Linked DNA regions of Homo sapiens: region 2 is linked to region 1. Evidence: promoter capture Hi-C in human tissues and cell types (Jung and others, 2019). All regions are on one chromosome and are shown on one strand. The core of a region is centred on a gene start or on the middle of the fragment in contact, and the rest is flanking DNA. Distances in the headings are between cores, read along the strand shown.

Region 1 (2,689 bases), core at 129-2,628:
TAACTCCTATTTAATGTATGTTTTATAATGTGCATTACAATTTGTATAGTAGTATTCATGTTTAAATTACAAATAAACCAATGTAGGGAGTAAGTGATCAAACCTCTTCTACTGATAGAAATGCAAAATAAAGAAAGTTTGGAGCTAAAGCTCTAGAGACACACTTAGAAGCCACACATACTCTTTCTTTGAATTTTTCTTCTTCAACTTTTGGCAAACTTGTCTGTCAAGACCATGAACAAAGGCAACTTTTTCTTGGTTTTCCTGATTGCCCCATCAGGAAGAGTGCTGGTAGCTTCCCTTTGTGTACCTCTCACTATAACCCTTTAACTGGTTTATGCACAACTCACCACTCTCACCCTCCAAACTGCTGCACGGCCACCAAAGGAAAGGAACCAAATGGAATCAGAAAATACTAGACCTTTTTTTACTCAATGCACCTCCCCTAGAAAGCCTTCCTGATCACGCTAGGCTTAGAGAGGTGGTTATTGTCTCAGTGATCCCAAACTACCTTTTTCATTCAAACCTCTAGTAGAGCACATCTCACACTGTAATCGTTTGTGGTTTACACGACTGTCTCCCCTGCTTTCTGGGAGGATACAAAGGGCAGAGCTGACTTCCAGTCATCTTTGTACACGTGTGCACATGGCACACATAATTGGGAAATGAATGAATATGATACATTTAGCTGACACTGAAGTGGAGGAAAACTTTGAACGTTTTAAAATCAGCACCTTACTGGTAACTAGGGCATCTGTGCTGTGCTTCCAGTTCACCAAGAGCCCAGATCCCTGTGTCTCAATCTCTTTAAAAAGACAAAGAAGGACTTTAAAATAATCTGTAAACTCTGCTCTAAGATCCCATATATGTAGAAAGTTCAGGCCATTCTCCTGCTTCCCATAGTGTTCCGAATGCTCAGCACTTTAAAATCTCAATTGGATTTTTGCATTTCCAAGTCACGCTCCACGTTTGCGATTCTGAGCCTGGGTCTGACCCAAATATGACAGTTCATACAGTTTCCTACTGCAAGAGCTGGGAAAACAGCGATCTACCTTTCGTGTTAAACCAGGCTTCAGCAGCGCCGCTCACCTGGCCACGTCTGCCCTGTTCATCGCTGTACCCGCAGATACCCGGCTCCGTGCCACGCACGAATGGTCAGGGGTATGAGACAAAGAAGCGGCTCTACATCGGGCGGCTTCTGAGAGTCACGGGGACCGCGCCGCCTGCCGCCGGGAAGAAGCGCGGTCCTGGCCAGCGTCGGCGACCCGAGCTCCGGCCGCGCCTCCCTCCGCGTCTCGGCCCACTCGCGGTGGCACTCGGCACCGAAGCCGGACACTCTACTGCCCGTTAGACCAAAAACAATGGCCGAGCCGGAAGCGAGAGAGGCCTCGACTTCCGCCCCCTCCGGGATCCCGGAAGTCTCGTTTGCGAAGGTGGGCGCGCGCGTCCCCGCACCCGGGAGAGCTGGCAGGGCTTACTTCTCGGCTGTGCCCGGCCACCTGCCGCGGGCGGGGTCGGGGTCTCGCGAGGGCCCAGGCCACTCACATCCCGCTCTCAGGCCATAGTCGGGGGATCCAGACGCGTCCCAGCTCTACACCTTCTCCTCCAGGTGTCCTTGGGAAAGATACCCAACCTCCAAGCCTGTTTTCTCATCTGAAAAAAATGCAGAGCATAATGCGTACCTCACAGGGCTGGGAGCACCGCATGAGGTTAACAGACACTACATAGCAAAAGGCCTGGCATATCCTGAGCAGTCAGTTATACCATGTGTGATGCCCAATCTGAAGTCTCAGTGAAGGGAGCAGCAAGCATCTCCCATCTTAAAAATGAAGAAGCATGTCTAGAAATTGTGATATTTTGGCCCATAAATGTGGTTAATATTTCGTAAGACAGCACCAGCATTCTGGTGTCCATGTAGAGGTTCCTAGGGAGACCAAGAAGCAGATAAACTGAGAAGGTGTGGGGACAGTTTGTAACCTAGTAGGCAGTTGTCTAGCCTCTGGGTGGCAGGTGGTACCCAGGTGACTTTCACTTTGAAGAATGGTTTGCATACAGAAGGAGGATATGAACTGGTCCTTGTTACAAACATGGTTGAGCAGGCCCTGTGTGTTAATGACCACGGGTGAAGGGCAAAGGGTGTGATGAAGTTAACTGTGTATCTTTATTATAGCACAGGAGATAGGTCCTTTACAGGGCCCAAAGTAAACAGTCTCCTGGACTGTCTAGGGATGGCAATATTTCAAAGGTGCCCTGGGCCTAACCCTGGCCCTGACATATGTTCCTCATATATCTGTGTGAGCCAAGATAGAAACAAAGACACCAGAAGTCCTGCTCCAGAGTTTCCACAAGCTTAAAAGTAATCTCTTGGAGCAATCTTTGTCCATTGATCCTAATGGTGGTTTCCTGTCATCAAGGTCCCCCTCTCCATTTGGAAATCTCACAAGGAGGTTTTGGCTATTTAAAACCAGGAACCCCAGCCTCTGCCTGACATTGATGCTAGACATTGCCTACTGGCAAATCAAGGCCTCAGAAGCTTAGGATTCTTGAGGTGGAAGGCAAATCAAGGCCCCAGAAGCTTAGGATTCTTGAGGAGGAAATCTCCCAAGGCCAGGCTAAATGCTCTCAGACCTGATTTTCAGGTCTCCTTGACCACGTGTTGTCCTGCAGTCCTGGCTTCCTATTATAGGAG
Region 2 (2,689 bases), core at 63-2,562, 53 kb before region 1:
ATCTCTTAGAGATCCTGTTTTCAATTCTTATGAATACATACCTAGAAGTGGGGTTGCTGGATTGTATGGTAATTCTATTTTAATTTTTAATTAATTAATTAATTAATTTTTTATTGAGACAGGGTCCCACCCTGTCACCCAGGCTGAAGTGTAGTGGTGTGATCCCGGCTCACTGCAGCCTCGACCTCCCAGGCTCAATCAATACATCTGCCTCAGCCTCCTGACTAGCTGGGACTACAGGTATGCACTACCATGCCCAGTTAATTTTTTAATTTTTTATAGAGACAGGGTCTTGCCATGTTGCCCAGGCTGGTCTTGAACTCCTGGGCTCAAGCAATCCAACTGCCTCGGCCTCCCAAAGTGCTGAGATTACAGGCATGAGCCTCCATACCCAACCTGTTTTTAATTTTTTGAGAAATTGCTATTCTGTTTTATGTAGCAGCTGTGCCATTTTACATCCGCACCAACAGTGCACAAAGGTACCAATTCTGCACATTCTCATCAATGCTTATTATTTTCTTTTCTGTTGTTGTTGTTGTTTTGGTTTTGATAATTGCTATCATAATGGTGTGAGATGACCTCTCATTGTGGTTTCGATTTTTACTTCTCTAATGATTAATGATATTGAGCATTTTTTTATATGCTTGTTGGCCATTTGCGTATCATTGGAGAAATGTCTATTTAAGTCTTTTCCTCATTTTTTAAGTTTTTTGTTATTGAATTGTAGGAGTTATTTATATATTCTGGATATCAACTACTCATCAAATGTTTAATTGCAAATTTTTTCTCCCATTCCATAGGTTGTCTTTTCAGTCTGATTATGTCCTTTAGTGCACAGAAGTTTTAAATTTTGATGTAGTATAGTTTATCTATTTTTACTTTTTTTTTTTTTTCAAGACGGAGGCTTGCTCTGTTGCCCAGGTTGGAGGGCAATGGCACAATCTCAGCTCACTGCAACCTCTGCCTCCCAGGTTCAAGGGATTGTCCTTCCTCAGCCTCCTGAGTAGCTGTGAGTACAGGCACACGCCACCATGCCCAGCTAATTTTTGTGTTTTTAGTAGAGATGAGGTTTTGCCACATTGGCCAGGTGGTCTCAAACTCCTGACCTCAAGTGATCCAACCTCCTAGGCCTCCCAAAGTGCTGGGATTACAGGTGTGAGCCACCGCACCTGGATTTACTTTTATTGCCTGTGCTTTTGGTGTCATAGCCAATAATTCATTGTCAAATCCACATTTAACTTTTTAAACAACAGCCAACGTGTTTTCCACAGTTGTTACACTACTTTACATTTCTGCCTACAGTGTTTGAAAGTTCCAGTTCCTCCACATATTTGCCAACATGTGATGTGAACTATCTTATTAATTTTCATCATTCTAATTGGGGTGTAGTGGTATCTCCCTGTGGTTGTAATTTGCATTACCCTAAAAACCAGTGATGTTGAACATCTTTTCCAGTGCCTATTTGCCATCTGAATGTCTTTGTCAGTGATGTGTCCATTCAGATCTTTGCACATTATTCTACTAGGTTATTTGCTTCCTTATTGTTGGATTTTGACACTTTTGGATACAAATCCTTTATCAGATATATGCTGTATTCATATTTTTCCCAGATCGTGGCTTGTTTTGTAATTTTCCTAACAGTACTTTTCAAAAAACAGATCTTTTAGTTTTGATGACATCCGTTTATCAAATTGTTCTTTTGTGAATCATACCTTTGGCATTATATGTAAGAAATGTTTGTCTAATGCAAGATGACACAATTTCTCCAGATTTATTCTAGAATTTTCATTGTTTTAGGTTTCCTACTGAGGTATAGTATTCATTATTAATTTTTAATATATTGGGAGATATTGATCAAAGTTAATATTTTTACATAGGGATATCCAATTATTCCAATATGATTTGTTGGAAAGATACCATTTATCCACTGATTGCCTTTGAACATTTGTCGAAAATCAGTTGCTCATATATGTGTGGATCTATTTCTGAATTTTTTATTCTCTTCTATTTATCTATTTTTCTATCACTATGCCAAAACTACACTGTCTTGACTGCTGTAGTTCTACATACGTTTTAAGATCAGGTTAGCCCTCCAAATTTTAAAATATTTTTCTGATTTGTTTTGGCTACTCTAAGCTCTTTGCATTTTCATATAGAATTTAGAGACAACTTTTTAATTTTTACAAAACACACACACAACTACTAGGATTTTGATTGAGATGGATTTGAGTCTACAGTTTGTGGACAATTGACATATTAACCATACTGCATACTCTGATCCGTGAACAAAGTAGATTTCCATTTGGTTAGGTCTTCTTTAATTTCTCTCACCAAAGTTTTACAGTACTTAATATACAGATATTTTGCATTTTTGCCATATTAATTACTGTATTTCATATTTTAATGCTATTATAAATGATATTATTTAAATTTTGATTTCAAATTGTTCATTGTTAGTATATAAAAATCAAATTGATTTTTATAAAGTTATGTGTCCTGCAACCTTCCTCAACTCACTTACTAGTTCTAGTAGCTTTTAAAAGAGATTTAATTGGATTTTATACATAGCGAATTGTGTCGTCTACAAAGAAGGACAATTTTACTTTGTTCTTTCCAACCTGTATGCCATTTATTTATTTATTTACTTATTTTAACTGCCCTGGCTAGAACCTGCAGTACACTGTTGAGT

The links. Contacts are between HindIII fragments. The study calls those that stand out against the background at their distance.
Region 2: a fragment that was not itself captured here is called in contact with the fragment with the promoter of ZKSCAN7 in region 1 in 2 of the 25 tissues and cell types used here (mesendoderm cells and thymus).

What each region holds. Positions count from the first base shown.
Region 1 is chr3:44,553,882-44,556,570 of GRCh38, reverse strand. ZKSCAN7 (zinc finger with KRAB and SCAN domains 7) reads right to left here and starts at 1,378. Exons shown (of 6, transcript NM_001288590.2): 1 at 1,090-1,378. RefSeq lists silencers at 1,325-1,464, 1,575-1,624. The HindIII fragment of the contact is 4,885 bases long and covers 1-2,689 here.
Region 2 is chr3:44,607,070-44,609,758 of GRCh38, reverse strand. The region is part of intron 2 of ZNF660-ZNF197 (ZNF660-ZNF197 readthrough); the gene reads right to left. All of the region lies in intron 2 of ZKSCAN7-AS1 (ZKSCAN7 ZNF cluster antisense RNA 1), which reads left to right. Among named protein-coding and RNA genes, the nearest start is that of ZNF197-AS1, 16 kb to the left of the region's middle. The HindIII fragment of the contact is 7,164 bases long and covers 1-2,689 here.